Linked DNA regions of Homo sapiens: regions 1 and 3 are each linked to region 2. Evidence: promoter capture Hi-C in human tissues and cell types (Jung and others, 2019). All regions are on one chromosome and are shown on one strand. The core of a region is centred on a gene start or on the middle of the fragment in contact, and the rest is flanking DNA. Distances in the headings are between cores, read along the strand shown.

The links. The method cuts DNA at HindIII sites, captures the fragments that hold promoters and counts their contacts. A contact is called where the count stands out against the background at its distance.
Region 1: a fragment that was not itself captured here is called in contact with the fragment with the promoter of VPS28 in region 2 in 2 of the 25 tissues and cell types used here (lymphoblastoid cells and spleen).
Region 3: a fragment that was not itself captured here is called in contact with the fragment with the promoter of VPS28 in region 2 in 1 of the 25 tissues and cell types used here (lymphoblastoid cells).

What each region holds. Positions count from the first base shown.
Region 1 is chr8:145,007,231-145,010,225 of GRCh38, reverse strand. No RefSeq gene overlaps it. Among named protein-coding and RNA genes, the nearest start is that of ZNF252P-AS1, 5.9 kb to the right of the region's middle. The HindIII fragment of the contact is 4,220 bases long and covers 1-2,995 here.
Region 2 is chr8:144,426,822-144,430,136 of GRCh38, reverse strand. It overlaps VPS28 (VPS28 subunit of ESCRT-I), which reads left to right and starts at 1,589. Exons shown (of 10, transcript NM_016208.4): 1 at 1,589-1,648; 2 at 3,158-3,228. The coding sequence starts at 3,192. It overlaps TONSL (tonsoku like, DNA repair protein), which reads left to right. Exons shown (of 26, transcript NM_013432.5): 26 at 801-1,362. The coding sequence ends at 994. RefSeq lists a silencer at 1,414-1,763. The HindIII fragment of the contact is 10,135 bases long and covers 1-2,737 here.
Region 3 is chr8:144,989,122-144,992,340 of GRCh38, reverse strand. It overlaps the pseudogene ZNF252P. Among named protein-coding and RNA genes, the nearest start is that of ZNF252P-AS1, 12 kb to the left of the region's middle. The HindIII fragment of the contact is 3,981 bases long and covers 1-3,219 here.

The DNA.
Region 1 (2,995 bases), core at 252-2,751, 580 kb before region 2:
AAATCAGTGAAAATGCAGGACAGGAATGTGCATTTCCTGAAGAGAAGACAGGTATCGGAGCCTTGGAATCTTCTTTATAAAGGGCCCAACTCCAGAGATGGCCTTCCCATAACAGTCATATTTACTTAGACTGGATTTTGCAAGGTTTTAGCGTATGCTTCTTTCATAAACAGTTAAAGATAGTCCTAAGCTATCAAAAGCACATTTGCTGGCAAATATGGCTCTGAGAACACTAACAACAATTAGTTCATGTCCAGTTATTAACAGTTCACTTGATCTTACAACTAACTAATGAGGTAGATGACATACATTTTGTTATTATCTCCATTTTATAAATGAAGGAAATGGATTCTCAGAGAGCTTAAGGGACTTGCCCAAGATCTCTAAGCTTGGGTCAAAGTCTTAGACTTTTCAGCTGGTCAGTACATGATAGTGCATGGGCACCAATCTACCTGGGTTCTAGTTTGGTCAATTATTAGAAGTGTGACCTTGGCCAAATTACTCAGCTTCTATATGATTTAGGTCCCTCATCTGTGAAGTAGGAAAAAACGATAATAATTACCGGGATGGTTAACTTTACCTGTCAACTTGACTAGGCATGGGGTGCCCAGATTAAACATTATTTCTGGGCAAGGGCACTTCTGGATGAGATTAGCATTTGAATCAGCAAGGTAGATTCCCCTTCCCAATATGGGTGCACATCATCCAATCTGTTGGGGATGTGAAATAGAAAAAGTGGAGCAAGGAGGAATTTGCCCCTTTATTCCTGTCTCACCTTGAGCTGAGACATCTAATTTCATTTTCTCCAGCCCTGGGACAGAGGTTTATGCTGTCAGCTCCCCTGGTTCTTAAACCTTTTTTAAAAAAATATAAATTGCCCAATCTCAGCAATGAGAGAATATAGCAATGAAAGAAAAGACTTTCTTTTTTCTGTTTTTTTTTTTTTTTTTGAGATGGAGTCTCGCTCTGTCACCCAGGCTGGAGTGCAGTGGCATGATCTCGGCTCACTGCAAGCTCTGCCTCCCAGGTTCCCACCATTCTCCTGCCTCGTAGCTGGGACTACAGGCACCCACCACCTTGCCTGGCTAACTTTTTGTATTTTTAGTAGAGATGGGGTTTCACCGTGTTAGCCAGGATGTTCTCGATCTCCTGACCTTGTGATCTGCCCACCTCAGCCTCCCAAAGTGCTGGGATTACAGGCATGAGCCACTGCGCCCGGCCTAAGACAAGACTAATACACCATGCCTGCTGTATGTAACAGAAGCGTTTGCTCAAAGGCTGACTGAATAGAAAGTTCTCTCTCGAGCATGTTTGTCTCTCAGGAGCCCGCTTACCCCAGCACCTTCCTGGGTCAGTCATCCACAGCTATTTATCCATGCAGCGCTGTATCTGACAGATTGTGGAGGGTTTAGTAAAGTCAAAATCTTGCTTCTTGGGAACAGGCTCAGTGGATAACGTCTTCCACAAGAGCTCGGGAGCTTCAGTGGGGGTGATAGTGTTACAGTAGGTAGTCAGGCAGTCAGGAGAGCCCTCCCACCCACCAGGAACACCAGGTGACCATCAGGGGACAGTCAGGTAGTTGTTAGTTGTCTCTCTCAAATAAGAATTGGTTGCTGCCAGCACAAGGGAAAGGCAGTCTCCCAACAGATAGAAAAAACCTGAAGCTGGTGATCAGCAGCTTCCCAATGAGATCTTAGGAGTTGGGCAAGTGGGCTTGAGCATGCACACAGGGCGGTGAAGTGGCAGAGTTTAACCGGTTGATACCTTATTAGAAGACTCAACTGGTAAGGAAAGAAACACCTTAAGTGAGCATACACACAACTCCAGTAAACACACTGGGCATGTGTCCCCACTTCCACCCTGCACATGTGGACAGCCCACCCCAAGGGAGGAATCAGAGGAGAAGGGATGCTCCCCAACCCCCGACCGCCACAACCTTGCCAGTGTATAAAACCCCAAGTCAAGGGTCAAACCGTGCACTTAATCTCTTGAGTGGCCCACTTGGCCTTCTTCCAAGTGTACTTCGCTTCCTTTTGTTCCTGCTCTAAAGCTTTTTAGTAAATGTTCACTCCTGCTCTAAAACTTGCCTCCATCTTTCCCTCTGCCTTATGCTTCATGCCTCTCCGTCAAATTCTTTCTTCTGAGGAGGCAAGAATTGAGGCTGCAGCAGACCCATGTGGATTTACCCCTGTTAACAATAGATCACACTGCGGCGAAGGAGACAGAAACGCCACAAAAGACCCTGCAGCCCGTCAGGGAAGGAAGCCCGAGCGCCCCAGACGGCCAGCCCTACCGGGGGACTAGCGCGAAAAGCCTAACTGCGTTCCTGGAGAGAGGGGGAGGGTTCAGAGCTGACAGCAGCTCCAGGCCAGTAGTCCCACGCACACCCCAAGACTCATCTCCTTTCCTGCTCCCAGAGGGAGGAAACAACCTGGGCGGGAAGTGTGGTCCTGAGAAGTCCTGAGGCAGCGTCTGGACTTGAACTCAGCTGGATCCACTCTAGGTGCCCTTGGAGAACTATGGTCTCGGTGGTGTCCGGACGCACTGAGGCATCCTCTCTACCCTCACCCACTCGCCCGAGCTGTGCTGGGTCCCCAAAAGCCCCAGTGGGACTTCCTTGCCCGCACCTGCCCTTGCGCAGCTGGAGGCGAGGGAAGCCGCATGTGATCCTTACGGATAGCTGCGCTGTCTTCAGACGCTCAGAGCATCCCCCACTGACCTTAGCTTTCTGCCTTTCCAGCTCCTTTACAGTTGGGATGTTTTTTATTGTCGAGTTGCGCTATAGCAGAATGTTTGTATCCACCACAAAATGCCTGTGTTGAAACCCAGTCCCCACTGAGATGGTTCAGATGCGGTAATGAGGGTGGAGGCCCAAGACAGGATTAGGATGAAGGGCCCGAGGCTTCCCATTTCCGCTAGGCAAAGGTGCTGTGTGAAAACCACAGTCTGCAAACCAGGGAGCCACCTTCACCAAGAACGGCCAGCTGGCACCCTG
Region 2 (3,315 bases), core at 340-2,839:
ACCCTGTTCCACAGGGACTTTCTTCTTGTCCCTGGCAGGAAAAGGGATCCCAAGGTCAGGGTGTTGAAAGCTGCCAAGGGACCCTCCTACTTCCTGGCAGGGGCTCCTCTGACACAACCCTGCCCAGGGCTGTGGTCTGATTTAGCTTGTTCTCTCTTGAGCCACATCAGGGCAGTCCCCAACCTGAGCTGTCTGGAAGACAACCCCAGGAAGGGCTTTGATGACCTGGCTTGCCCCACTGGGGCCGGGGCAGGCTGTGCCCTCCAGGGGATGAGGGCTTAAGTGAATGTGCACGAAGCGGGGCTCTGCTTTCTTCCTGTGCCCCCTCCCCTTCACCTCCCAGGGCCAGGCCGCCTTTTCCAGGAAGGCCCCCGAGTGCTGGTGTGAGACCCCTTCCCCACACCTCAGTTCCTGGCATCTGTACCTTCCCACCCAGCTCCCTGAATTCCTGAGCTTAGTGTTCTCTTGATCCACTCAGGCCCACGATGTACAGATTTGCAAGCAGATCCATTATGTCCTTCTTATGGGTGGGGAGACTGACGTGTAGGCATGGACTTTGAGATCGGGCACTGTCAGAGGTAAAGAAGGGAGCCACCCTTCCTCCTGTCTGACCGCTGGCTGTGCAGATGATCCCACCCCTTCCTGGAGAGTCATGGGGCCTCTCCGGAGCTCTGCCCACTGCCCCTCGCTACAGCCCTGGGGCCCTCAGCGAAAGCGAGTTTGTTCCCTGGAGCCTGCCGCGGGCACCAGGACGCCGCCGGCCCCCGCAGCGCTGAGGTCTGCCCTCTTCCCCTCCGCAGGCTGCGCCGTCCAGGGTCCCCTGGGCCTGGGCCTGTGGGACAAGATAGCCGCGCAGCTCCGGGAACTGCAGCTGTGCAGCAGACGCCTCTGCGCTGAGGACAGGGACGCCCTGCGCCAGCTGCAGCCCAGTCGGCCGGGCCCCGGCGAGTGCACGCTGGACCACGGCTCCAAGCTCTTCTTTCGGCGCCTCTGACCCTGGCGCTGCCTTTCCCCACCCTCACCGAAGCCCCTAATAAATGAAGCTGCTGGCCGGGCGCGGTGGCTCACGCCTGTAATCCCAACACTTTGGGAGGCCCAGGCGGGCGGATCACGAGGTCAGGAGATCGAGACCATCCTGGCTAACATGGTGAAACCCCGTCTCTACTAAAAATACCAAAAATTAGCCGGGCGTGGTGGTGGAAGCCTGTAGTCCCAGCTACTCCGGAGGCTGAGGCAGGAGAATGGCGTGAACCCGGGAGGCGGAGCTTGCAGTGAGCCGAGATCGCACCACTGCACTCCAGCCTGGGCGACAGACCGAGACTCCGTCTCAAAAAAAAAAAAAAATAAAATAAATGAAGCTGCTGCCTCCCTCCCCGTGGCTGCCTGGCAGGCGGGTGGGCGGGGTAAGACCGGGCTTCGAGTCTGCTGCGCCGGTTACGTCCCGGGGGCTGCGCGGCTGGAGGGAATGTCCCGAAGTCCGGGCGGGCGCGGGCGCAGGCGTGAGGGCTGAGCGCCGAGCTGCCGATGGGGACGGAGGGGCGGGGGGTCGCCCCGACGCGCGCAGGCGCAGACATGAGGGGCGAATGCCGAGTCGCTGACCGAGCGCACCCCGCCCCCGGCGCCATCTTCCCGACCGCGAGCCGTCCAGGTACCCGGGGCCCGGCCGGTGGGCGGGGAAGGGGCAGAGTGGGGAGAGGCGACTCAGGGCCTGGCACCCTCTGGGCGCGCCTAGGCCCCGGCACAGCTTCGGCTGAGCGCCGCAAAAGTCACGTTATTGGCATGTTCTAGAAACTGGCTTTCCTTGCTCGTTGTCCACTCTGCGAGGTTGTTTTGCACATTTGCTTGTGGCCGCAGAACGTCCGCTTTCGCTGTTAGGCAGAAGCTCCTGCGTGGTTGGGGCGGTTGGCTCCTCGGCGCTCTCCTGCCTGGCGGCTCCGTGACGGCTGCCGAGCAGCCTCGGTCCCCACCCCGCGGCTCGCAATGGCCTCGACCCTCGGAGAGCTTGACCCAGACGTTCCCTACCTACATGAGCGGCGACGCCCTTTCCCGGCTCTTCCTCGGCTGGGGCGCCCCAGGGCTTCGGCGCGGGCGGCCTTCCCTCACTTCTGCTCTTCTCCCATCCCCGGTAGCACCGTCCACTCCCAGTTAGCCGGCTCAGCGCTGCTCTCCCGGGCCTCTCCACCGAGAGCTTCCTGCGCCTGCCCGCCAGGCCCGCTCCTCCTCCCCTCTCCGTCTGAGTTTATCTTACTGCCCGGCCCATTGGGCCAAAAACAGGGGTGTCGTTCGTAACTCCTTTATTTTAATCCTATCTCAAATCCCTCGGCGGATCTGACGGCTCCACTTTCAAAGAGAGAACGTCTGGAGCTGGCCCAGCTTCCGTGCTAGGCAGGACCCTCCCACGGGCCCCGCTCCCATTGTTTCTCCACAGCTCGCTGCCCAACTAGGGGCACCTCTCCATCTTCATTCCCTAGGACCCCCTCTTTCGAGAAGCTGCACCTTCAGCTTGTTGGTTCCTCCAAGTTCATGCCTACTTAAAGGCGGGCTGTTAAGTGTGTTGTTTCCTGTGCCCCAAACTCTCCTCGTGGGCCATCAAACAGCTGCCTGCCGCCCTCATAACCTCCCTCAACCTCCAGCTTGAACCACACTCCACTGCAGCCCCCGCCCCGCTCTCCTGAGTGTCCATAGTACCTCACTTTTTCTGGTAGCCCCTATAGCACCCTGTGTGTTCACCATTATTGAGCTTAGGAGAGCTCTTCATGGAGCCCTGGGTCTCCAGGACCTGGCACTTACGGGCTGTCTTTTTTTGTCGGTTTTTTTTGTTGTTCGTTTGTTTGTTTTGAGACAGGGTCTTGCTCTGTCTCCCAGGCTGGAGTGCAGTGGCTCGGTCTTGGCTCATTGAAACCTTCACCTCCTGGGTTCAAGCGATTCTCCTGCCTCAGCCTCCTGAGTAGCTGGGATTACAACCGTATGCCACAACGTCCGGCTAATTTTGTAATTTTAGTAGAGACAGGGTTTCACCATGTTGGCCAGGCTGGTCTCAAACTCCTGACCTCAGGTGATCCGCTCACCTCGGCCTCCCAAAGTGCTGGGATTACAGGTGTGAGCCAGCGCCTGGCTTAGGGGCCATCTTTGAGTCGGCCCTGGCTCTGCTCCCCAGGTCTCAGTGCTGTGCCCCCCCCAGAGCCTAGAGGATGTTTCATGGGATCCCAGCCACGCCGGGCATAGGAGGTGAGTGTGGCTGGAAGGGCGCAGGCTTTCAGCCGCTTCTGCAGGGGCTGACGGGCAGTATTGGGTATTGGGGATCGGGGGTGGGGA
Region 3 (3,219 bases), core at 703-3,202, 560 kb before region 2:
TGTCACCCAGGCTGGAGTGCGGTGGCACGATCTCGGCTCACTGCAAGCTCCGCCTCCCGGGTTAAGGCCATTCTCCTGCCTCAGTCTCCTGTGTAGCTGGGACTACAGGCACCCACGACCACGCCTGGCTTTTTTGTATTTTTAATAGAGACGGGGTTTCACCGTGTTAGCCAGGATGGTCTCTATCTCCTGACCTCGTGATCCGCCCGCCTCGACCTCCTGAAGTGCTGGGATTGCAGGCATGAAGCACCGCACCAGGCCTTTTATATTCTTTTGAATAAATCAAACTTTATGTAATTTTATTTTTCTTCTCCATTAGCTTTTTAGTTGTACATTCTTTTTTAAGTGATGACTCTAATGATTAAATATGTCTCTTCAACTTACTATGGTCTACCTTAATATTTTTACCACTTCTTGAAAAATGCAAGATCCTTACGTTTGCTTTTGTCCCTCTCCTGCCTTTCATTATTATAGTCACTTATTTTGTACTACCTACTTTGAAACCTCACCAGAGAGTTTATTCTGTTGCTATTTTTGACGGTATATATACATTACATTTAGAGTTACCCTTTCTAGTGTTTTTCATTCCTTTCTGCAGTTCTGTACTTTTGTCTAAGATCATTATTTTCAGTTTGAAAAATTCCCTTTAGTATTTCTTGTACTTAAGTTAGCATTATTCTGTGAGTTTTTGTTTGTCTGAAAATGTCTTTATTTTCCTTTCTTGATTTTTTCCTTTATTCTTTGGATATGATGTATTAATTGATTTTAGGATGCTAAACAAACCTTGCATTTCTGGGATAAATCCCACTCAGTAATGGTGTATAATTTTTATATATGTTTTCATTGAATGAATTGGGAAGTGTTCTCTTTTGTTTTTTTGGAAGAGTTTGTGAAGAATTGGTATTAAGCCTTTTTTCTATTCTCTAGTTCATTAGTTTCTGTTATATTCCTTATTTTCTACCTTCTGCTTGATTTGGGTTTAGTTTTTTTGTTTGTTTGTTTGTTTTCTCCAGTGTTTTAAGGTAGAAGATTAGGTTGTTGATTTGCTCCCTTTAAAAAAAAAAAAAAGTAGGCATTGAGGAAGGAGCCAAGATGGCCAAATACAAACAGCTCCAGTCTGCAGCTCCCATTGAGACCAACACAGAAGATGGGTGATTTCTGCATTTCCAACTGAGGTACCCAGTTCATCTCATTGGGACTGGTTAGGTAGTGGGTGCAACCCATGGAGAGGGAGCAGAAGCAGGGAGGAACATCGCTTCACCCAGGAAGTGCAAGGAGCCGGGGGACCTCCCTGCCCCAGCTAAGGGAAGCCATGAGGGACTGTGCTACCCAGCCTAGGTACTACACTTTTCCCATGGTTTTTACAATCTGCAGATCAGGAGATTCCCTCATGAGCCTACACCACCAGGGTCCTGGGTTTCAAGCACAAAACTGGGCGGCTGTTTAGGCAGGCATCGAGCTAGGTGCAGGAGTTTTTTTCATACCCTGGTGGCACCTGGAATCCCAGTGAGACAGAACTATTCACTCCCCTGGAAAGGGGGCTGAAGCCAGGGAGCCAAGTGGTCTCAATCAGCGAGTCCCACTCCCATGGATCCCAGCAAGCTAAGAACCACTGGCTTGAAATTCTCACTGCCAGCACAGTAGTCTGGAGTCAACCTGGGATGTTCGAGCTTGGAGGGGGAAGGAGCATCTTCTGACATTACTGAGGCTTTAGTAGGCGGTTTTCCCCTGACGGTGCTAAGGAGACCAGGAGGTTTGGACTGGGCGGAACACCACAGTGCGGCAAAGCAGCTATGGCCAAACTGCTTCTCTCGATTTCTCCTCACTGGGCAGGGCATCTCTAAAGGAAATGCAGCAGCCCCAGTCAGGAGCTTACAGATAAAACTCTCACCTCCCTGGGACAGAGCCCCTGGAGGGAGGGGCAGCTGTGGGCGCAGCTTCAGCAGACTTAATCTTTCCTGCCTGGCTGTGAAGAGAGGAGCTGATCCTGACAAAGGGGATTCTCCTAGCACAGCACACCAGTTCTGCTGAGGGACAGACTGCCTCCCCAGGTGGGTCCCTGAACCCCATGCCTCCTGACTGGGAGACACCTCTTAACGGCTCAAGAGACACCTCACACAGGAGAGCTCCAGATGGCATCAGGTCAGTGCCACTCTGGGATAAAGCTTCTAGAGGAAGGAGCAGGTGGCAATCTTTGCTGTTCTGCAGCCTCCACTGGTGATAACCAAGTCAACAGGGTCTGGAGTGGACCTCCATCAAACGGCAGCAGACTGGCAGAAGAGGCGTCTGACTGTTAGAAGAAAAACTAACAAACACAAAGCAACAATAACAACATCAACATAAAAGACCCCACACACACACACAAACTCCATCCAAAGGTCATCAGCCTCAAAGATCAAAGGTAAATAAATCCACGAAGATGAGGAAAAAACAGTGCAAAAACACTGAAAATTCCAAAAACCGGAATGTCTCTTCTCTTCCAAATGATCACAACTCTTCTCCAGCAAGGGCACCAAACTGGATGGAGAATGAGACTGATGAATTGACAGAAGTAGGCTTCAGAAGGTGGGTAATAACAAACTCCTCTGAGCTAAAAAAAAAACCATGTTGTAACCCAATGCAAGGAAGCTAAGAAACTTGGTAAAAGGTTACAGGAACTGCTAACTAGAATAACCAGTTTAGAGAGGAACATAAATGACCTGATGGAGCTGAAAAGCACAGCACAAGAACTTCCTGAAGCATATACAAGTATCAATAGCCGAACTGATCAAGTGGAAGAAGGATAGTAGAGATTGAAGATCACCTTGCTGAAATAAGGCATGAAAACAAGATTACAGAGAAAAGAATTAAAAGGAACAAACAAAGCCTCCAAGAAATATGGGTCTATGTGAAAAGACCAAACCTACGATTGATTGGTGTATCTGAAAGCAATGGGGAAAATGGAACCAAGTTGGAAAACACACTTCAGGATATTATCCAGGAGAGCTTCCCCAACCTAGCAAGATATGCCAACATTCAAATTCAGGAAATACACAGAACACCACTAAGATACTCCACAAGAAGATCAAACCCAAGATACATAATCATCAGACTCTCCAATATTGAAATGAAGGAAAAAATGCTAAGGGCAGCCAGAGAGAAAGATCAGGTCACCTACAAAGGTAAACCCATTAGACTAACAGGTGATCTCTCTGCAGAAACCCTATAAGCCAGACGAGA